Linked DNA regions of Homo sapiens: regions 2, 3 and 4 are each linked to region 1. Evidence: promoter capture Hi-C in human tissues and cell types (Jung and others, 2019). All regions are on one chromosome and are shown on one strand. Each heading gives the region's core, a stretch centred on a gene start or on the middle of the fragment in contact. The rest is flanking DNA. Distances are from core to core; before and after follow the strand shown.

Region 1 (5,331 bases), core at 2,283-4,782:
GGCAGCATAGTCTGAAGGCTCACAGTCTTGGCCAGGATGGCCATATCCAGATGTGTACGCTGTGCACTGCACAACTCCAAAGCATCTATGTTTACAGCCCATGCTTTTTCCTAACCCTTCTCATCTTTCAAGCCTATAGTGGGCATTGCCAGTTGCCTTCTTATATCTGGGGCTCTGGGGGCTGCTGGCAGTTGCTGGGGGCCACATGTACCCATTTAAGGTTCCCCGAAGGCCCCCATGCCAGAGTTGGCTTCAACTTCTTGATCTGTGTGGAGTTCTTAGTCCTCGCAACAGCTCTATGAAGCAGGTGCCATGTTACCAATGAGGAAACTGATGGTCTCAGAGATGAAAACACACCCATCTAGCAAGTGGTGCAGCCTGGATTTCAACTCAGGCTCAATCGCAGGGCTGGTCATTTCACATCAGGACACGAGGGGAGCTGGGCTTAGGACAGAGCTACACATGGATGGAGGCTGAGAGAACCAAAGTGAGGTGTAGCTGTATCCTTAATAATGCTGTGAATCCCTGGATCATACTGCACCTGAAGCCCTTTCTATTGCTGGACACAATTACATTTCCTGAATTCTTTTTTTTTTTTTTTTTTTTTTTTTGATACAGTGTTTCACTCTTTTGCCCATGCTGGAGTGCAGTGGCGTGATCTCAGCTCATTGCGACCTCCGCCTTCCGGTTTCAAGCAATTCTCCTGCCTCAGCCTCCTGAGTAGCTGGGATTACAGGCGCCTGGCACCACGCCTGGCTAATTTTTGTATTATCACAAAATAATACAAAAGTAGAGACGGGCTTTCACCATGCTGGCCAGGCTGGTCTCAAACTCCTGACCTCGTGATCCACCCGCCTAGGCCTCCCAAAGTGCTGGGATTACAGGCATGAGCCACTGCGCCCGGCCTACATTTCCTATATTCTTAGAGCTCATTTGAAAGCAGTTTTCAGTCACTTGTTAACAGATACTTTAATGAATGCAAAGGCTCAGCTCAAAGTCCCCTCCTCCAGGAACATCTCTTCCTTAAAGGCCTCCCCCCGGCCCCCGCCAGACTCTCCCAGGCCCACCATCTAAACATCTTTGCAGGGCTGCACCTGCCTGGCTTGCTCTGTCTGCTTCTCCCTGTGGGATGCATCTCCAGCATCCTCCCTGTCTGGTTCTGATCTTTTCTGGATGTGCTCACTGCTCTCTTGCCAGCCGCTCCCAGCTGGGCCAGCCTAGCCTGCTAGGAGGGACAGGGCAGAACTCCTACAGCCCTACTTCCAGGGGCACCAGCCTGCAAACAGCAAGCTGACTCACTAGGAGAGGTGGGTCATGGGCAACAAGGGCTGGTGGCCCAAGTCACTGGGCTACAAAGGGTCTGGCCTCAGGTGCCCAGAACATCTTTCTTAGACGTGCTAGCCAGGACAGCCTTGTCTCCCCTCCTCTTTCCCTCTTCAGATCTTGCCTGGCCCTTACCTCCCCTCATCCAGAAACCCTCCACTGTCTGTTCTGCCCCACGTGGGCACCTCCTCCTCTGAATTCTAGCCACCAACTGTCACAGGAATATAGCACGTTACAGTTTGCAACAGATTTTCACTTCCATTGGACCCTTGCTCCTTGGAACAGCCCTGAGATGTGGGCTGCACAGAAACCCGCATTGCGTGTTTGAGGAAACTGAAGCCCACAGAGATTAAGTGACTTAAGTACACAGAGCAGAGCCGAGACTTGAACTCGGCTTTGCCGATGGCCAGCACTGGGCTACTTGTGAGTTAATATTTAATCACATACAGGTTGAGGAGCCGTTATCCGAAATATTTGAAACCAGAAAAGTTTTGGATTTCGGACTCTTTCAGATTTGGAGATACTTACAGAATACCTGCCAGTTGAACATCCCCAACCCAAAACTCTAAAATCTGAGATGCTCCAATGAGCATTTGCTTTGAGCATCATGTTGGTGTTCAAAATGTTCCAGATTTTGGGTTTCAGATTTTTGAAATCCAACCTGTGATAATTAATTTTAATGACTGCGGCTGCTACTCTTATAATCACCACTGCTACAACTGCCACCACCACCACCACTGCTACCACTGTAGAACCAATGGCAGCAGCAAGGTCTGGTCCTGTGTGGGCCCCTTGATAGCAGACCTCACCCCAGGTAGGTGGTGTCTCCATATAACAGATCAGAACACTGAGGCCCAGGAAGCTGAGGGGACGTGACCAGTCTCCTGTTTGCCAGGCCTTCGTGCTTAGGCCAGGGGTTATGGAAGATAAGAACGGGTACTCGGCCGGGCGCGGTGGCTCACGCCTGTAATTCTAGCACTTTGGGAGGCCGAGGCGGGCAAATCATGAGGTCAGGAGTTCGAGACTAGCCTGGCCAACACGGTAAAACTCTGTCTCTACTAAAAATACAAAACATTACCTGGGTGTGGTAGTGGACGCCTGTAATCCCAGCTACTCAGGAGGCTGAGGCAGAATTGTTTGAACCCAGGAGGTGGAGGTTGCAGTGAGCCGAGATAGTGCCACTGCACTCCAGCCCAGGTGACAGTGCTAGACTCCGTCTCAGTTAAAAAAAAAAAAAAAAAAAAAGAAGGGGTACTCATTCTCCCCAGGAGACTGTCAGGGCTCAGGGATGCCAGGCTGGGGACCTCTGGGGCTTAAGAAGTGGAGCCCAACATCCCCAGGCGCTAAGCGTGGAGCAGGTGACCTGAACCAGGCTGTGTCCACCTTCCCTCAGGAAGGCCTCCACGATAGACCAGAGGAGCCCTTCCCTTGCTGCAGGGCCAGAGCCTCGGTTTCTCCATCTGCACATGAAACAGCCTGTCCCCAGGGGCCCCGCTGCCCCTGGAATCTGTGTGTGGGGTCAGATCTCTGCTCATTTCTCACTGTTATGAAGGGAGAAAGAACCGGCTTATGATCTAGGGCTAGGCCACAGGACATAAATCCCCAGGGAGCTTGTTCAAAATAAAGACCCCCAGTTCCCAGGGCCCTCCCTGCCTCCGGATTCTGATCCAGCAGCTCTGGGGTGCAGCCAGGGAATCCCGGGGAGCCTGTTGTTCAAGCAGACAGGAGTCACTGACACCATGGAGACTGGGACCAGGAGGCTGATGGGCCACACCCAAGGACTCCAGCTGGGCAGCAGCACAAAAGCCCAGTTACCTGTTAGAGAGAATTTCCTCCTCCTCACTTTGCAGATGGAGACGCCATTACCCAAAGAGAGAAACGGGCTTGGTCAAGGTCTCCAAGCAAGTCTACCCCAGGCTGGGAGGAGGACCACAAGGATCACTAGGCCACCAGCTGGGACCAATGCTGACACCACAGGGACATGCTGGACCCCGGTTCCCACCCCAAGCACCAACCCTGAGAGCCCACTTGGCCAACACCACCACAGGTCCCCTTACCCATATGCCCACGGCCACATTCAGAGCAAAATACACAGTGATGACGATGATGTCAGCCACGCTCAGCTGCGTCCCGGGAGTGTGGAGGTCGCTGGTGGAGTTGGCGGCCATGGCTGTCCTGCCGCAGGCACTAGGTATGAGCCCGAGGGACTGAGGGGCAAACCAGGTCAGAAAGGGTTTCCTGGCAGGGAGCTCATTGATCATTAAACCAAGCGGACAGTGGCATCTCCAGCCCATGATGTGGCTGCATGCAGGGCAGCTGCCTCACCATGCAGTTCAGCTTCCTCACCCCATGGTGGGGTGCAGATCCCAGAGCGCAGGAGTCAGGGAGCCTGGGAGAAGCAAGTGGGAGGAGGAAAGGAAGGAGCCTCCTTGAACTCGGAGGGGGCTTGGGGAAAATGAACCGCATTTAGTGGACCCGGAGGCAGCCCAAATAGTCCCAGAAAGGCTGGGTTGCTTAATGGGTGGCTTCACCTATATCTAATTTGTATAAGAAGCATAGAGCGTAGGGACAACCGCCTCACCTCTGAAGATACTGCCGTGGCGGGCAGCCATGTCCTCCCTTGGCCATCGGGCTGTGAGTGGACTGAGCAGGGCTTGGGAGGGGGACACCTGCATTATGGCTCACGTCCAGCCAACACAGCCCAGGCTCAGAGGCAGCCCCATGTCGGACAATAAAGTCCTGCTTCCAGCGTTTCTGCTTTCTTTTTCTAGACCCGTGAAACAGTCCCAGGCCCCTCAACTTGACCATGCATTCGGCCCCCACCCCGGGCAATGTCTGCCTGGGACCACAGAGGGACCCAATATCTGTCACACACCAAGGACCATGCGTGGCTGTTCTGCACATGATCCCATTTCACGGACCATGCGTGGCTGTTCCGCACATGATCCCATTTCACGCTCACAGCAGCCACGCAGAGTAGGCAATGTCTCATCCTAGTCAAGGAAATGGCCATCCGCCATTACGCAGCCATTGAAGGCGCAGAGTAGGATTCAGTGCAGATGTGGCCCCACCGTCTCCACCGCAGTGACAGTGACGAGTTCCATCTGGATTCCATCAGAGTGGGACGCTCGCTCACTAATTCTATCAGTGTACACAGCAGGGCTGGCCGGCAGTCTCACGCCTCTGCTCAGTGACATGACTCGTGACTTTGCAAAGCATTTGCAGTTTAACCAGACATGCAGCACTTCCAGAAGTGTTAATGAGTGAGCGGCTGCCACCAGGAACACGCTGGCCTGCAAACCCAGCCAGCCTGTTACTCAATAACCCTGAGGTGCGGGTAAAAATTAATCCCCTCGGCCAGGAGCAGTGGCTCATGCCCTTGGGAGGCTCATGCCTTTGGGAGGCCAAGGCGGGTGGATCACCTGAGATCAGGAGTTTGAGACCAGCCTGGCCAACATGGCAAAACCTCGTCTCTACTAAAAATACAAAAATTAGCCAGACATGGTGGTACGCACCTGTAATCCCAGCTACTTGGGAGGCTGAGGCAGGAGAATTGCTTGAACTCAGGAGGTAGAGATTGCAGTGAGCCAAGACTGCGCCATTGCAGTCCAGCCTGGGCAACAGAGGGAGACTCCATCTCACAAAACAAACAACAACAACAACAAAAAACAATTAATAGTCCTCACATACAGGACTAGGCAGAAGAAGGAAGGGAAAAAGGAAGTCACTGCTGAGAGAACCCTCAGGCAGGCTCAACTGCCTGCCGTCTCCCCTTGCCTCTGGCCAGCGAGCCTCAGATGGTGTTTACTTCCCAAGCCATTGCTTGCAATGTGTTTTAAAACAAAAGGCTGCTTTGCACTGATCAGGAGGACCCAGCTGGGAGGATCCAGACTTACCAAAACTATCCCATTAATAGAGTAGTTGTACCAGCAGCATTGGCTCTGAGACCGTTGGCTAGGTCTTAGAAGGAAATAAACCACTTAGTGATAACTGCCGCCTTTGGATCAA
Region 2 (5,955 bases), core at 935-3,434, 340 kb after region 1:
AGCTACAGGAGTCATCTCCTGTGTAGCTAGCAGGATATGCTTAATTCCCCCAGCCTCAAATTTTGACGACACATGTGCAATGTTGTCTACCTTACCAGAGTTTCATTAGAGGCTCAGCACCCATGTTTTCGATGGAGGCTAGTCACATAGGCCACCTCTCCTCTCCCTCACATGTAACAAAACTCTAGACTCCCAGGAGGAAATTAATTGTTCATAGTAAACCACATTTGCACAAACACTTTAGGCACAGTGAGCCACTCCCTTCTTCTAAGTTAGGGAATGCTGGGAACCCTCCCAAATTCAAGGTCCCAAACACCAGCCAAGGACTAGCCTTGCAAGCAAGCCTTTCTAAGGATGGGTGTCTCATGCCTGCTATATGAAATCTTTGCTGCCCAGCAGCTATGCCCCTGAGTAAATTTTTGGTGTTATCTTAACATTTTATATAATACAATAGCAAATAATATGATAGACCATAACATGGTACTGGTTTCAGCTGCATCATTCATATTAAATAGCAAGGCTGCTTACAGTTTTGACATTTGGTGAATACTTAACAGGTATTGGTACATAAGTTACTATGGCAATATTAAGTAATTATAATCTGTCCTTCTTATCTGATTAACCTTTCAGTAAAATTGTGGGATAAAGTAGGCATAATAAGTTCTGATTTAAAATTAGAATAAAAATTGTCTTTCATTTTATTTTCATGGATGGACCAGTTTTGATTCATATTGTACTAAATCCCTGTTTACAATTATGAAATAAGATCAGATATTCAATCATTTTTGTGAATTTTTTTTTGCCTAAGTATACAATTAAAATTAATTGCTTTATGTGTTTTTATATGCTTCAATTTCGGAGATAGTACTCGTATTCTGTTACCTTGATCTTTAGTGATTTGCAATTTTCAAGGTGACTCTGTCTTTTTATAATTTAGGGTAATAGCAAGTTCAGTGAGTATGTGCTTTAGAATTAATAATATTATTTTCTGAGCAGTTCTAGATTCACAGCAAAATTGAGAAGGTACAGAGATTTTCCATATTCCCCATGACCCCTGACATATGAATAGCCTCCCTCATTATCAGTACCCCCCATCAGAGTTCATCAGAGTTACAGTTGAGGAATCTACCTTGACAGACACATCACCCCCAAGGTCCACAGTCTACGTTAGGGTTCACTCTTGGTTTTGTACATTCTATGGTGTTGGACAAATGTGTGATGGCATGTATATACCCTTGTAGTATCACAGACAAAATAGTTTCACTGCCCTAAATATCCTCTGTCCTCCACTGTTTCGTCTCTTCCTCTCCACTGGTTTCTGGCAACCATTGGTCTTTTTGGTGTCTCAGTAGTTTTGCTTTTTCCAGACTAGTCATATAGTTGGAATAAAACAGTGGTGGATATCTTTTTGAATATTTAAACAATAAAGTTCCATGGTAATTTGATTCTGTCATTTTAGATGTTCTTTGTCCTTGTGTTTGTTTTCCTCATGTTGTGTTCATCAGAACAGGATCTGATGGCGTATGATTTGACGTGCTGAGAAAGCGTGATTTCTGTAGATGTTTGCCACGTAACGGGGAGGGTGGGGAAAAATGGCATCATGCAGTATTCCACAGCACTAACTGGACCATCGTGCTCTAGGAGATGGGTCCAGATAGAGTCTAGCGATGGGACGGGATAATCTCAAGAGCTGGACTTTATAAAACTGGAATCACAAAGTCTTGCATACTTACCTTGCACTTAAAAAGAAGATCAGGCAGTGAACACTACAGGTGAATAAATATGTTCCTCTCTGGTTCTCTTCCTTTTAGGGATGAGCTTGAAAACAGTCTATATTATTAGAATATGGCTCATCTACAACTAAATGCTCTGTCATAGGAAATGCCAGTGTTTTTCTTTACAATAAATGAAAAATAATGTTGTTTTCACCAGAGAGAGTAACAACTGTTGGCACATTCTGGCAGCTTGAGTGAGCTGATAGTTCTGTTTATATATATTTTTCATACCAGGTAGTACTCCCTGGCAACCTGCCACCACTGTGGCAGTGTTTCTTCTTAAGCTTCTCACTGAATGAATGGTGTGGCTCAGAGTGAATAAGCTCTTTAAGGGAGTGATCTTTCCAGTGGTTCTGTCCATAGGAGGTAAAATGGGAGGTGAATTTGAGCCTTGTTTGTGCTAGGGAAAATAGCTAGAACTCAGTAAACATTGCCAGCATCTGCCCCAGAAGAGGATTAGTGAGAGTGAGTACATTGATCTCCCTTGAGCTCTTCTCCACTGGCAGCTGAAAAGTCTTTGCAAAGATCCTTATCCCTGGTCTCTTCCCTATGTTTTGCCACAGAACACAGCACAGCACCCATAGACCTACACAATAAAATGTACAGTTTTCCCCCCTTATCCATGGGGGTTATGTTCCAAGACCCCCAGTGAATGCCTGGAACAGTGGATACTACTGAACCCTAGATATGCAATGTCAGGATAGAAGGAAGAGGATAAGAGTAAAAGGGGGAATAAAGAATGTGGAAGGCAGAGAGTACAGAGAGTAAATGAAGGGAAAAGAAGCAAGTGGATATGATGGAGGGTGGTAAAATGAGATAATACTTCAAAAGAAGAGTGGGGTATTAGAAAGGTGGAAAGAATATAAGGTGAACGTGCAGCACCAAAACTTATCAGATAAGACAAACTTTACTTGCCAATATGTTAGTTGTGCTTTAAGTTTAATTATTTCATCATAGTGTGGCTATACTGATGATTTTAAGCCAGTCAGATATTCTGGTCAGCAAATCATGTGTGTGTGTTTTGATTATCAAAAACGAAGAAAGCAATTAATTACCCTTAATAACTACATGGTGGACACAGTCTTTTAAAACATTGATTCTGAAACTTTTTGGCCTGGGGTTCGTTTTATATGATTAAATATTATTGCCTAGAGGTAACCAACACCCTGAATTAAGAATTTATTATGTCCATTCCCTTTTAAAACATTTTATTACATATGTGTATGGTCATAAATAATATGTAGAATTTGTTTTCATGTCCTAAAATTGTATATAAATTGTTTTACACTCTACATATTTTGCAACTTTCTTTTGTCTGGTCACATTACATTTTTGAGGTCAGTCCTTATTGACACAGGAAGCTCTGGTTTTCTATCAAATGACTGGATCTCAAACTCTCTTCATAATGATAAATAAATAATTAAAATAAAGAAAAATTATTGCAAATTCCAAAGAGCTTTTATTTAAGTCGGTTGTGTCTTTTGATATTTACTATTTTAGAAATAAAAACTAAAATATTTTAAAAACAAGCATGCGGCCAGGCGTGGTGGCTAACGCCTGTAATGCCAGCACTTTGGGAGGCCGAGGCGGGCGGATCACGAGGTCAGGAGATCGAGACCATCCTGGCTAACACGGTGAAACCCCGTCTCTACTAAAAATACAAAAAATTAGCCGGGCGTGGTGGAGGGCGCCGGTAGTCCCAGCTACTCGGGAGGCTGAGGCAGAGAATGGTGTGAACCTGGCAGGCGGAGCTTGCAGTGAGCCGAGATCGCGCCACTGCACTCCAGGCTGGGTGACAGAGTGAGACTCCATCTGAAAAAACAAACAAACGAACAAAAAAAAACAAGCACGCTCAGCCATACATTCCAAAGCCTTTAGAACTATGACCCATTCACCATTAGAGCTATGATGTTATGACACACCATGTCTATGAAAAGCTCCACTGTACACGTGAAACAGAATGAGAGTGAAAATGGCAAATAACATTTTGTATTATTTGACGTCTTGGCCCCTCATCTGGATCTTGAACTCCAGGGATTCTCAGATCATAATTGAGAGTCAACATTTTAAACCACATATGTGGTTGTGGATAAATGCACCCTTTATGAAGAAATGGACTTTAAAGTTTCACTTATGTGTTTTTGGCTTTTTTCTTTCACTTGTCTTAAAAAATTTAAATCTCAGGCCGGGCACGGTGGCTCACGCCTGTAATCCCAGCACTTTGGGAGGCCAAGGCAGGCGGATCATGAGGTCAGGAGATCGAGACCATCCTGGCTAACGCGGTGAAACCCCGTCTCTACTAAAAATAAAAAAAAAAATAGCCGGGCGTAGTGGCAGGCGCCTGTAGCCCCAGCTACTCAGGAGGCTGAGGCAGGAGAATGGCGTGAACCCGGGAGGCGGAGCTTGCAGTGAGCCGAGATTGCGCCATTGCACTCCAGCCTGGGTGACAGAGCGAGACTCCGTCTCAAAAAAAAAAAAAAAAAATTTAAATCCCAACAATTTTGTTTATATAGTAAAAAGGAAAATATTTTTGTTATGTATTCCTTTCCTGTCTCGTGGCACTGTGTGCTATTTGGATCTAGTGTGGTCCTAGACTAATCCTGTTCTCACATGGGAACAGTTAGAGCCCTTACAGCTCTTATTTTGCAAATAAATGTATGAAGTTTATCCAAGTATTTGAAAGGAAATTCTGAAGATAGTGGTGAATTGAGAAAAGACCATCTCATTATAATTAAAATAGTTTTAAAAGTATATTTATTATGAGTTTTTGTAAATCCTGTGTCTCTACAATACATACATACAATGCTGTCATGTATATTTAAGCTTAAAATGGTTAGACATAAATTATGTTTTAAAAAATTTATATCCACAAAGAATCTTAATGGAAAGCAAAATATGTAATAGAGACTGCTGAGTGAATAAAAGTAAGTAATAGTAAACAGTAAAAATGTAGAAAAGTGAGAGATGATAGTTAATTAAACTTACCTGAATGAATTGTAAGCATAGGACATGTAAAATATAATAAGCCTGAATGCATAGTGTGTTGTGGGAGAGAGCAGGATGTGGGACTGTTTCTGTGAAGAAAGCATGTATACAAGTTAGTCAAATTATTGTGTTATTTACATCCTAAAAATGAAAACTTCATTTTCGGATTTTTCAGATTGGCATCCTACTAATTTGACCCTTAGTGATGAGACTTGTCAGAGATCCAAGAATCTGAAAGTTGGTGATAAAAGTCCATCTGTATCACCATCAATGCCTGAAAATCAGTCAGCAACCAAAGAACTGGGACAGATGAACTTAACAGAACGAGAAAAAATGGACACTGGAGTTGTACTTCTCTCAGGGAATGATACTCTCCATGACCTGTGCCAATCACAGCTACCAGAAAACAAAGAGAGCAAAGAAGGTAACAAAGAAGCATAGAGAATTCAGTCCTAGAGTGCCTCTGCTTGGCTGCATAGAGCTATAGTTTTGACTTAAAACTTTTTCTGGTAAAATGTGCTTTGTGTTTACTCACCTTTTGCACTGAACAGAATACCTTTTGGCAGGATATTTGTGTTCTTCCTTTAACCAAAGCAACATCTAGATAACAGAGAATTAGGGGAAAGCATGATTTTCTTTAGGAAGTAGGATTATATTTAGAATATAGGGACTAAGTATGTTTAGGGACTAACATAGGATTATATTTAGGATAACTTAGTAGAGACCTAAAGATTGCTGACTCAAACACAATGTGGTTTCTTTGCTTTATTTTTACAGCTCTGAATTCACAGCTGTTAGTTATAACTATATGCACTATAATTTAAAAGACACCTTCCCACACCTGTAATCTCAGCACTTTAGGAGGCCAAGGTGGGTGGATCACGAGGTCAGTAGTTCGAGACCAGCCTGGCCAATATGGTGAAACCCCATCTCTACTAAAAATACAAAAAAAAACTAGCCGGGCATGGTGGTGAACGCCTGTAGTCCCAGCTACTCAGGAGGCTGAAGCAGGAGAATCGCTGGAACCCAGAAGGTGGAGGTTGCAGTGAGCCCAGATTGTGCCACTGCACTCCAACCTGGGCAATAGAGGAAGACTCCGTCTCAAAAAACAAAAACAAAAACGAAAAAACACCTTCCAAAAGCAAATATTAAGTGACTTCCTATCATTTCTATGACTTTATGTATTATAGAATTG
Region 3 (5,955 bases), core at 73-2,572, 310 kb before region 1:
GGACAGAGACCCCGACTGTCTCCTTGATGCTGCATGCTGGGCCTGGCACAGTGCCTGGCACACATCTGCTGCAAGAATGAATGACTCTACAGGGCACCGAGTCCAGCCCCACCTGCTCACACACTCCCCCCTTTCTCTCTCCCTTCCTCCAAGCTCTCTGATCCTCTCTACACCCTTACCAAACCACAAATGCCCTCACTGAACATAAAACATGGCCTATGAATATTGGTAAGTTTTAAAATAACTACCTGGCAGAATGAAAAGATCACTGCTCTACCCAGCACCTTTTAGTCACCTCACTGAATCTCAGTTTAGTTTCCTCATTTGTAAAATGGAAATGGCAGCCAGCGAGAATCAGCAAGATAAGGAACATGAGAGAGCTGTAGGAAATAAGGCTGCACTTTCTGCTTCACTACAGGTTTCCCCACATGCCTCACATGCTTTTGACGGGCCCTCTTCAGGTCCCACTGGTCCTTTGACCATGCCTCTCAAAGAAAAACAAAAATGGGAGCAAGCTGACATCCCAACAGGAGGGGAATTTTTTAGTTTACTTCGCACTAAATTTAACAGCATAAACAAACTGGAGTTCGCAAACCATATAATTTTTATAATTCCTAAAAGATTAGAAGTATGCTACCAAATGTCAAAACACAAAACCAAAAGGAAATCAAAGTTGTTATTTTCCTTTTGGTTTTATCTCCATTGGCCAAATGCTTTTTGTTCAAACAATGTTTACACTGCCATTGTCCTGCTTTGTTTAGAAAAATAATAATAAAGGGGCGCGTTTCCAGCACTGACAACTGGGTGCGTGTGCAGATCTGCCCAGCTGCTCCTAAACTCAGAAATCGCTCTACTTTAGAAACTTGTGCCGAGAGGCCAAGGAAGAACTGTTTACTTGCCCTCCAAATATACACTGGCTACATCCATGCCCCTAACCCCCCTTCTCGCTCCAGCCCCCCTCTTTCCTTCAGCCACCACAGGGAGGACCAGGCCAAGAAAACAGGGATGTTCTTCAGCATATTTATGCCTCACAAGGAAAACATAAGCCCAAGGCCTCAGGAAGGCCAGGTCTGGTGACTCAGTGACTGCAGACTCAGCTGCTGCTGGTCAAATGCACCAAGGTGACAGCTATAATTTACTGAATGCCTACCATGTGCCAGGCACTGACCCAGGGGTTTCATGGCACTGATCTTGCTGCACTTTTGCAAGGCAGGCATTACACAAGAGAGAGGATAACATACAGCAAATCACAGAACTGGGATGAAGCTCTCAGCCACAATGCCTCCTGTGAAACTCAGAAGTGCTCAATCCTAAACCTCCATTCTACTTATATTACTTCTATGTGGTTGCCCTTCTCTGTTCCAATATCATCATACCCATCTAAGACGCTCCTTGGAAGATGTGAGGTTTTTCCACCAACCAGCTTTCAAGGCCAACCCACGTAATTTCTATCCTGGAACTCCCTCCTTACTAGTGAACGCTTTCCGGAATGACTTGTCCAAACAAAACCACTCTCATGGGCCCCAGGGATGGGCCCCACTTCTCTTCTCTTCTAAAGTACTGATCCTAGTCACCAAGTATTTCCAGTTCACCCACTTCTAGGCCTATGACAGAAGTGCATTTTCCCACCTCCTCTGAAGTCAGCCATGGCACGGCAATGAGATGAGATAGAAATGATGTGTGTCACTCTCTGCTGAACAGTAAAAGGCAGGTGCCACATTCCCTGCGGTGGTGACAGTGGGTGCCTATGTCAGGATGGAGCCTCCTTATCTATCCAGAGACAGGAAAGCATGTCTACACAGGGACTCATGTACCATGTTCACAGCTGTGTTACTCACGACTGCCAAAGACTGGAAACAACTTTGTCCAATTGATGAACAGATCAACAACATGTGATCTATCCACACAATGGAATATTATTCAGCCTTAAAAAGGAAGTTCTGGCCCATTCTACCATATGGATGAACCTCGACAACATTACACTGAATGTAAGAAGCCAAACACAAAAGCCCACACACTGTATGACTCCATTTATGTGGAATGTCCAGAACAGGCAAATCCACAGAGACAGAAAGCAGACTGATAGTTGCCAGGGGCTGGAGAGAATGGGAGGGGAAATGACTGCTTAATGGGTACAGGGTTGCTTTTGGGGGTAATAAAATGTTCTAAAATAAGATTATGCTGATGGTGAACTTTATTGCAGTTGCCAGGGGCTGGAGAGAATGGGAGGGGAAATGACTGCTTAATGGGTACAGGGTTGCTTTTGGGGGTAATAAAATGTTCTAAAATAAGATTATGCTGATGGTGAACTTTATTGCATGGCAAATAAATTATGCATCAATAAAACTGTTTTTGTTTTGTTTTGTTTTGTTTTTGAGATGGAGTTTTAACGCTCCTGTTGCCCAGGCTGGAGTGCAGTGGTGTGATCTCGGCTCACGGCAACCTCCGCCTCCTGGGTCCAAGCGATTCTCCTGCCTCAGCCTCCTAAGTAGCTGGGATTACAGGCATGTGCCACTACACCCAGCTAATTTTGTATTTTTAGTAGAGACAGGGTTTCTCCATGTTGGTCAGGCTGGTCTTGAACTCCCGACCTCAGGTGGTCCGCCCGCCTTGGCCTCCCAAAGTGCTGGGATTGCAGGCATGAGCCACTGCACCTGGCCTGTTTTTTTTTAGATGGAGTCTTGCTCTGTTGCTCAGGCTGGAGTGCAGTGGCACAATCTCAGCTCATTGCAACCTCTGCCTCCTGGGTTCAAGCAATTCTCCTGCCTCAGCCTCCCAAGTAGCTGGGACTACAGGGATGCGCCACCATGCCTGGCTGATTTTTGTATTTTTAGTAGAGATGGGTTTCACCACGTTGGCCAGGCTGGTCTCGAACTCCTGACCTCAAGTGATACACCCACCTTGGCCTCCCAAAGTCCTGGGATTACAGGTGTGAGCCACCACTCCCAGCCAATAAAACTGTTAACAAAACAAAATAAGACAAAACAAAAAGCTTGTGCCACCATCATCCTAGGTTCATGAGTGACTATGAGTGAAGTCTCCTGACTACATACACTGGACATGCCCCATGAAAAAGAAATGAGCCTCTGCTGTTAGGCCACTGAGGTGAGAGGGTTGGCTGTTCTCACATCATGTAGCCCATCCTGATACACCTCAAACACATCCACGCTATCATAAGTTCATACCGAAAATGTGTCTAAGGCCAATTAACTTAAATCCTGGAAGGAAGCCAAAGGTGTGGTTCTGTCCCAAAGCCACTGTCCAAATCTTCAAACATAAGGAGATGGGGCAGAGGGAAGGGGAGGAATAGAATTATTTAAAGACTCTGCCTAGATCAGAATAATTCCTAGCCTGAAAAAAATTTATAACTCATAAGACAATGAACTAACCTTCCAAAAATATAAAAAACACCTTCAGAAATTGAGAAAAAACCAATAACCCAAGAGAAAAATCGAAGAACTGTCCACAGAAAACTATAAATGGTCCTTAAACATATGACAACATGATCAGCTCCTCTTCAGAAAAATACAAATTAAAACTATACTGAGATATTATTTACAAGTGTCAGGCTGGCAGAACTCCAAGCATTTGACTACACCTTGTGTTGACGAGTCAGTGGGGAATCAGGCATCAACACCGCCAGTGGGAGTGCAACATGGAACAAGCCCTGTAGAGGGCAACTGGGCAAAATCTGTCAAAATTACAACTGTGTTTCCTCTTTGACTCAGCAATGTGCCTGCGGGATGCCACCCTGCAGGACCACTGCAATGTGGGAAACGATGTGCACGTGAGACAACTGTCGCCGGCATGTCATGAAACAAGCTGGAAACAGCCAGGTGCCTTTCCTCAGGGGTGAGTATTCAAACAGGGACAACTTCACAGTGCAACACAGCTGAAAGAGAATGACAACCATTCTCCATGCACTGATATGGAAAAATCTCTACAATAAGTTAAAAAAAGCACAAGATGAAGAACAGTACACACAGAATGCTATCTTTCATTTACTGAAAAGGGAGAAATAATAATACACAATTTGTGTTTGCTGTACTTGCATTAAGAAAAACTAGAAGGGTATTCAAACTGCTACAGGTGGTTACCAGGGAGGAGGGAGGACAGAGATGAGATCAGGAGTGAGGGGCAAAATTTCTTAAAATATATTTTAATATATTTTCATTTTAGAAACGTGACTGTATTGCCTATTCAAAAGAGCATTTCATTAAAAAAAAAAAAAGTTCCATTCTCAAAAAAAAGAAAAAATACCAGAGCCACATCAAAGCCTTTGGCCAACAGGTCTCAGATGCCAGGGCCAAGAGCAGCCCAGGAGTGACCACCAGCCCAGGTCCACCTGTGTCCTTCCGCCACCAACCCGTGTAAGAGCCCATTACCAAGACCTGTGAAGCTGGAGGGCAGGGACCCTGCACCGTCCCGCGTCTGTCCCTTCCTTTCTGTGACTCTCTTCCAGGCCCCTCCAGCTTCACATTTGGAAGGCTATAAATGGCCTTTAATGCTTCCCCCACTGTCAATGCCCCCATCCAGCCTGCTATCCACTCAGTCTGGGTTTCCTTCCTCCTGGCCCTCTCCCATGGGCTGTCCAAAGCATCGTGCACAAATCCAGCACAGCCCTGTGTCCCTCCCATCATAAGGTAGCAGATTCAAGAAGGGAAGAACCAGAGCTCCTGGCATCCACTTGTGCAGCAAGTCCTTCCTCAGCTTCTGCTTTCCTGCTACCTGCCAGGCACTGGGCTGGTGCTGAAGGATGGAGGTCAACCTGACACAGTCCCTGTCTGCAGAGAGCTCCAGTGGCACAGTCCACAGGGAGTGTGGAAACATAATCCTACAGTGGAAGTCTAAAGGGCACAGGACAGCAGACTGGGCTTTTAGGCCAGCCATGGAGTGTGCAAGGGGGCAGACGAGGTGGGTATGCAACAGGCAAAGCACATTCCAAGCAAAATGAGGAAAAGCAAGTGAAGAAACGCCACAGGCCAAAGCAGTAAGGCAGAATACCCATGGTAAAGATAAAGAAGTCCGTCCCTTCCTCCGGGCATTTAGGAGCGAGGGGTCGCTCTCTCAAGGCCCATCTGCGAACAAAGTCCCATCCACCTTGCTCTAGGCACCCTTGGCCTTTTCCCTGGAACTAGGCAAGCCTGGCCTTCATTTAATCAGGGAACAGGGAGAGTGTAAAAGAGAAAAAAACAAAAACTGCAAGCAAAGATCAAAAGTTTTGACCCCTAAAGACCCAATACTCAGCCGGGCGCTGTGGCTCATGCCTGTAAACCCAGCACTTTGGGAGGCCGAGGCGGGCAGATCACAAGGTCAGGAGATTGAGACCATCCTGGCTAACACGGTGAAACCCCGTCTCTACTAAAAATACAAAAAGTTAGCCAGGCGTGGTGGCAGGCGCCTGTAGTGCCAGCTACTCAGGAGGCTGAGGCAGGAAAATGGTGTGAACCCGGGAGGTGGAGCTTGCAGTGAGCCGAGATCGTGCCACTGCACTCCAGCCTGGGTGACAGAATGAGACTCCATCTCAAAAAAAAAAAAAAAAAAAAAAGACCCAACACTCAAAAGATGCCAGATCAATAACCTACGACTCTCACATTTGACAAAAACAGCAGCAAAACCATGTTTCCCTATCACCAAAAGGAGAAACACCTGAAGCTAATGGATTCCAAATTGTATTTCCATAAGCCTTATAGGGCGGTTTTCAAAAAATCACAAATTTCCAAGACTTGATTCAGCAGCCGCTATGTTATATAATGAATTTTTTTCTTTGAAGGCAGATAATATTTGTTTCCCCATTCCAAATTATAAACTGATTTTTTCTTCCAAATGGAAAAAAGATTCCTTCACAGTAGCCTTTTAATTCTATCAAATGGATTTCTTAAATATCCACCAGTTGGTAATATGATGTGGCACACACATAGACTTCCAATGTGTATGGGCCACACACGTGGTGGG
Region 4 (5,955 bases), core at 984-3,483, 300 kb after region 1:
GTTAGTCAGTTGAAAAAATAAAAATAAAAAAGAACAATTCTAGAATTGGAATAAATCTTCAGTGAAGTCTTGGCTGTTTAGCTGGGAGTTCACCAAGTTGGGATTTCCCCCCCATGACATTTAAAAAGCCCTTGGTATCAAATAGCATCTGCATATGTAAATCAGTTGTTGATATATTCCAAGACTTTAGTGCTAAAGATTTTCAAGATTATGATTCATATTTGAAATTCAATTCATTGGGACACTAAATGTCAAACTAAAATGAAAGCTATAATACTCCTACCTAAAAAAGGATGCTACATTTTTGCAGTGATATGTATTTCCAGAGGAAGACTTTTTCACCTCAAGAAAAGTAGAATTTAAAGGATAAGCATCTAACCAACTAGCAAAATTTTCAACATTTCATTTATTTCAAAATCGATTTTATTGCAGCCAAAACAGTAGAATTAACTGTACATAATAAACTATTATATATATATATATACACACATATATATATATATATATATATATATATATATATATATACACATTTTAAGTTATAGGGAATAAAGTTTATTTTGGCAGATAGTGTTAAACAAAATTAAAGTTGCATACATTAGTAACATAACTCAACATCCTTAATTTGGTATAGATGTGACACATTTTCTTGCTCTCCTGTGTTCTGCTAAATCACCATACCTAAACTGCTTTATAAAACTGATATGCTGAAATTTAACTTTACTGTTTTCGCTTACGCTCTGATTCCAAACAAAACTTTTCATAAGCTTCTTCTATCTCTGGGTCCATCTCATCATCAATATCATCCAAGTATGGATCACCAGCCCCGGATAAATCTGTTCCATTTTCTTCATAATCTGGAAAAAAGTCCTCTCTTTCAAGTAATTCTTGGTATTTCTCTTGGTAATCTGGATCAGCTGCAGTGAAAGGAACACCATCAGATGTATAAAATGTTGGTTCATTCATAAAGTAGTTAGGATCATTTTCTGGTGTTGCTTCTCTATATGTTGAAGTTGCATGGACTCTACCCCAGTTACTTGACCGGAGTTCTACAAGCTTCAAGAGCATCTGTTTTACATCTCTACTGCAGTTTGCATCTAGGACAACGTTTTCAATTCTCTGAATAATTTCTTCCATATCCATCTTTCCTTTTTCCTTCCAAGCATCTTCCAAAACTGATCCTGTCAATTTTAACAATTTTACTGCACAAATTAAATTGTCATCCATAGGATTAGAAAACAGGGCATTCAGCAATTCTCGAAGACCAACCTGAAGAATATCTGCTCTTGTAACCTGTCCATTTGTTCCCTTGATCTCCAGGTTAAGATAAAGTTCTCCCAGAAAGAATACAAATGCATGAAATCGTTTTCGAGTAACTTCATCCCCTTTTGCAGCTTGATCTTTAACTTCATATTCAGTCCGACATCTTTGAAGTAGCAATTGGCGGAAGTTGCCACTCTGTGGGCTAATTGTCAGATGATGGGACAGGTAATTACACAGGCGAGCTCCCATATAAGAGAAATTTGGGATAGACGTGGCCTGTTGATAGATGAGTTCCGCAAGTTCTTGCAAAGCATCATCTGTTGTAACGCAACCATTCAGGGTCTCTGCAAACTGTTCAATTTCAGTTTCAAAACTGCCAGGCTGCTCTGTAAGATGATTCAAAAAATCCTGAACATATTCTGATGGAGTAGGATAATCCTCACAACCAACCTCATAGGATTCTGTGTAACTGGAGGAATAACCTGAAGGGTAAAATTCAGGGGCATTCACAGACAGCTTAGACCTTAATACAGGAGCTACAACCACCTGGGGCTTAGCCATTGCTGACTCCGAGTTCTGCTGTGGGATTTTATCCTGTGAACTAGGTGGAGCTCTCAGGGACCTCGTTTGCTCTGGGAGCGCCCCGGGCGGGGAAGGCCGCTGGGGGCTGGCGGGGACCTCGCACTGGGCCCCTGGCGGCGGGGTCGTCCTGGGCTGGCGCAGCGGCGGTGGCTGCAGGAAGCCCGGGGCTTTGGGTTGCGGCGGCTGGTGCCGCGCCCGCTCAGCAGGCCCCGCTCCGTTCGGGCCTTCAAAAATATTAATGTCACATAAGACAAGGAAAAGCTGAATAACTTCCAAATTAAAAGAGACTAAAGCATCATGACAACTAAATACAATACAGGATCTTTGACTAGGTCTTGTGTGAGAGAAAATCTCCTAAAGACATTGTTGGTTCAATTTTTCAAAACTGGAATACAAGCAGTAGAATAGATAAAAGTAATGTATTGATGTTAAATTTACTGCAGTTGATAACTGTATCATGGTTGTGTAAAGTATTAATAATATCCTCATTATTGAGAAATGCATATTGGAAGTATTTAGAGGTAAAGAAGAGTAATGTATGAAATTGAAATGATTCAAGAAAAATTTGTATATAGAAAGAGCAAATGATAAAACAAGCAGGATTAAACGTTAACTGTGTGTCAGTCTAAGAGGAACCTGGCTATCCTTTGTAATTCTATTGTAGTCTTTGTGTAAATTTCAGGTTACTTCCAAATTTAGAAAAAAATTAAGTGAACACATATATTGACCCAAAGTTAGACCCATTCTGTAACATGAAAATACAAGGCAAAAATATATATAATACAACTATGTTAAAAGACCCTTTTTTCTATCTTACCTAAAACTTAACATCTCCAATGATTATCCATTAATAAGCTCTTTTTATTTTATTTTATTTATTTTATTTTTTTTTTTGAGACGGAGTCTTGCTCTGTAGTCCAGGCTGGAGTGCAGTGGCGCCATCTCGGCTCACTGCAACCTCCAACTCCTGGGTTCAAGCGATTCTCCTGCCTCAGCCTCCCTAGTAGCTGCGATTACAGGCGCCCGCCACCACGCCCGGCTGATTTTTTGTATTTTTAGTAGAGACAGGGTTTCACCATGTTAGCCAGGATGGTCTCAATCTCCTGCCCTCGTGATCCGCCGGCCTCGGCCTCCCACAGTGCTAGGATTACAGGCGTGAGCCACCGTGCCCGGCCTAATAAGCTCTTTGTTTTTTCCTTTTCTTTCTTTCTTTCTTTTTTTTTTTTTTTTTTGAGACTGAGTCTGGCTCTGTCGCCCAGGCTGGAGTGCGATCTCCGCTCACTGCAAGCTCCGCCTCCCGGGCTCACGTCATTCTCCTGTCTCAGCCTCCTCTCCTGCCTCCTGTCTCAGCCTGTAGCTGGGTCTACAGGCGCCCGCCACCACGCCCGGCTAATTTTTTTTGTAGTTTTTAGTAGAGATGGAGTTTCACCTTGTTAGCCACGATGGTCTCCATCTGACCTCGTGATCAGCCCGCCTCGGCCTCCCAAAATGCTGGGATTACAGGCGTGAGCCACCACGCCCAGCCAAGCTCTTTCTTAAAGAGAAGATATTTCCACCTTTAACTGACAAAATCCCAAAAATTTATGTCAAGAATTTATTTTTAAAAACTTCTCGAAGATCATTTAGAAAGATTGATAACCACATTGGAAAAAGTATAAAAAATTGCATAGACCCCTGAAAATATGATTATATACATTTTCTTTTTTTGTTGTTTTTTTGAGACGGAGTTTTGCTCTTGAAGCACAGGCTGGAGTGCAATGGTGCAATCTCGGCTCACTGCAACCTCTGCCTCCCGGGTTCAAGCGATTCTCCTGCCTCAGCCTCCTGAGTAGCTGGGATTACAGGCGTACGCACCACCACGCGAGTTTCGCTCTTGTCCCCCGCGCTTGAGTGCAGTGGCACGTTCTTGGCTCACTGCAACATCTGCCTCCCGGTTTCCAGCAATTCTCCCACCTCAACCTCCCGAGTAGCTGGGATTACAGGCGCCTGCCACCATGGCGAGCTAATTTTTTTTTGTATTTTTAGTAGAGACGGGGTTTCATCATGTTAGCCAGGCTGGTCTCGAACTCCGGACCTCAAGAGATCCGCCCACCTCGGCCTCCCAAAGTACTGGGATTACAAGCATGAGCCACCGTGCCCAGCCTGATTATATACATTTTCAATAAACATTTATGAAAGTGGTATCAGGCCTTTTAATAATCAGAAGACCAAAATAAATGAAAACGAAATAACATTATCCACTAACCAGAATATATAAAAGGAAGACTGACAAAATCAGGTGTTGGAAAGGACATCTAATTAGAACTCTCAAACTTGTGGTTGGGTTATATATTAGTCAAAAAAATCTTTGGAATTAAAATTTAATTGATAAATTGTATGTATTTGTGCTATACCACATTTTACATACACACACACACACATTGTAGAATAGCTAAATCTGTGTATATATATGTATAGCAACAGACAGACATTGTAGAATGGCTAAATCAAGCTACCTAGCATATCAGTTACCTCAGATACTTATCTTTTTTTTTTTGTGGTGAGAACATTTAAAATCTGCTGTCTCAACAATTTCAAGTATTACCACATTGTTATTAACTGTAGTCAACATGTTGTACAATAGAGCTCTTGAGCTTTTCCTCCTAGCTGACATTTTTAGTGACATGCGTTGCATTTGAACATATGCAGTTACCATGACCAAGCTATTTTATTTGTAGGGCTGTACTTAACTAAAATATCTATACATGTGTACCAAAAGAAATTAACAAGAATGTTCATAGTGGCTTTATTGCTTGTAGTCCCAAATTAGAAACAAACCAATGTCCATCAACAGTAGAATTGGTAGATGTGCCATATTCATGCAGAGCACCACTGAGCAGGGAAAAGAAATGAACTGCTTGGGCCGGGCACGGTGGCTCACGCCTGTAATCCCAGCACTTTGGGAGGCTGAGGGGGACGGATCACTAGGTCAGGAGATTGAGACCATCCTGGCTAACACAGTGAAACCTCATCTCTGCTACAAATACAAAAAAATTAGCTGGGCATGGTGGCAAGCGCCTGTAAGTCCCAGCTACTCGGGAGGCTGAGGCAGGAGAATGGTGTGAACCTGGGAGGCAGAGCTTGCAGTGAGCCGAGATCGCATCACTGCACTCCAGCCTGGCCGACAGAGCGAAACTCCATCTCGAAAAAAAAAAAAAAAAAAGAACTGCTTCATGAAACCACTTGAAGGAGTGTCACAAATGTAATGCTGGGCCAAAGAAGCCACACACAAAACCATTCCTACTGAATGGCCCTCCATGCATCCATTTATGAAACAGACAACACTAATTGGGGCTGCTAAAAACCAGGTGACTCTTTGCTTTGACAAGACAGGTGGGCAGTGGTTAGGGAGCAGACCTTCAGGAGAGGGATTTCCAGATTGTTATTTTTATTTCATTTTCTTGGACTGTGTGGTAGCTCCAAGCATGTGTCCTCTTTGTGATAAATCACTGAGTAGTAGAATAATAGGATTCCTGTGTATATTATACTTTAATAAACATATTTGAATTCCTTTTTCCATTAGGACAAATAATATAAAACATAATAAATCTTTGCAATTTTAATATTATTTCTAGTTGATGAAAAATAAGTCACCTGAAGGATTCCAAACTTGCGCATTTCAATATAGAACTTACATGTTCTAATATATATTTCTAGAGATCCAAAACTGTCTGATTAATGTCATTTGAGTGTAAAAAAGCACAGTTATGTTTACAATTTGCTCTCTAATCTTTTACTTGAAGTTAAGCTAATTATCCACATCCATCAATGAAACTGCTTTCACAGAAGAGTCCAATCCATGGCATAAATGACAGGAACTTTAGAAAAGTCATTTCTTCTTCATTGTTTATGTAAAAACATTAAATTTCTTAGAAACACAGGCCAGCAAACTCCCAGTTTAGTGTTGCTTTCATTGCTTTCTGTAGTCTTGTTACCAGAGAAGATTTTTATGTTCCAGAATTGCACAGAGGGAAAACCTGACTATTATGGTTACCACTGTGGCCATCAAGACAAGGCACTTGATTCCTAGGATCCCAGCAATGACCCTCCCTGGAGGTGATGGGAATTAAG

The links. The method cuts DNA at HindIII sites, captures the fragments that hold promoters and counts their contacts. A contact is called where the count stands out against the background at its distance.
Region 2: a contact is called between a fragment that was not itself captured here and the fragment with the promoter of SLC5A10 in region 1, in 5 of the 25 tissues and cell types used here (H1 embryonic stem cells, aorta, dorsolateral prefrontal cortex and 2 more).
Region 3: a contact is called between a fragment that was not itself captured here and the fragment with the promoter of SLC5A10 in region 1, in 1 of the 25 tissues and cell types used here (mesenchymal stem cells).
Region 4: a fragment that was not itself captured here is called in contact with the fragment with the promoter of SLC5A10 in region 1 in 4 of the 25 tissues and cell types used here (adrenal gland, dorsolateral prefrontal cortex, spleen and 1 more).

The regions. Positions count from the first base shown.
Region 1 is chr17:18,950,366-18,955,696 of GRCh38, reverse strand. SLC5A10 (solute carrier family 5 member 10) reads right to left here and starts at 3,532. Exons shown (of 15, transcript NM_001042450.4): 1 at 3,381-3,532. The coding sequence starts at 3,491. The HindIII fragment of the contact is 13,514 bases long and covers 1-5,331 here.
Region 2 is chr17:18,609,273-18,615,227 of GRCh38, reverse strand. LOC107985051 (a long non-coding RNA gene) reads right to left here and starts at 5,595. Exons shown (of 3, transcript XR_001752812.2): 1 at 5,296-5,595; 2 at 4,761-4,849; 3 at 1-3,587. It also overlaps the pseudogene CCDC144BP. The HindIII fragment of the contact is 7,367 bases long and covers 1-5,867 here.
Region 3 is chr17:19,258,902-19,264,856 of GRCh38, reverse strand. The region is part of intron 1 of EPN2 (epsin 2); the gene reads right to left. Among named protein-coding and RNA genes, the nearest start is that of EPN2-IT1, 9.5 kb to the left of the region's middle. The HindIII fragment of the contact is 7,234 bases long and covers 1-4,939 here.
Region 4 is chr17:18,646,308-18,652,262 of GRCh38, reverse strand. It overlaps the pseudogene PAIP1P2. Among named protein-coding and RNA genes, the nearest start is that of TBC1D28, 4.9 kb to the right of the region's middle. RefSeq lists an enhancer at 1,479-1,979. The HindIII fragment of the contact is 6,520 bases long and covers 1-5,493 here.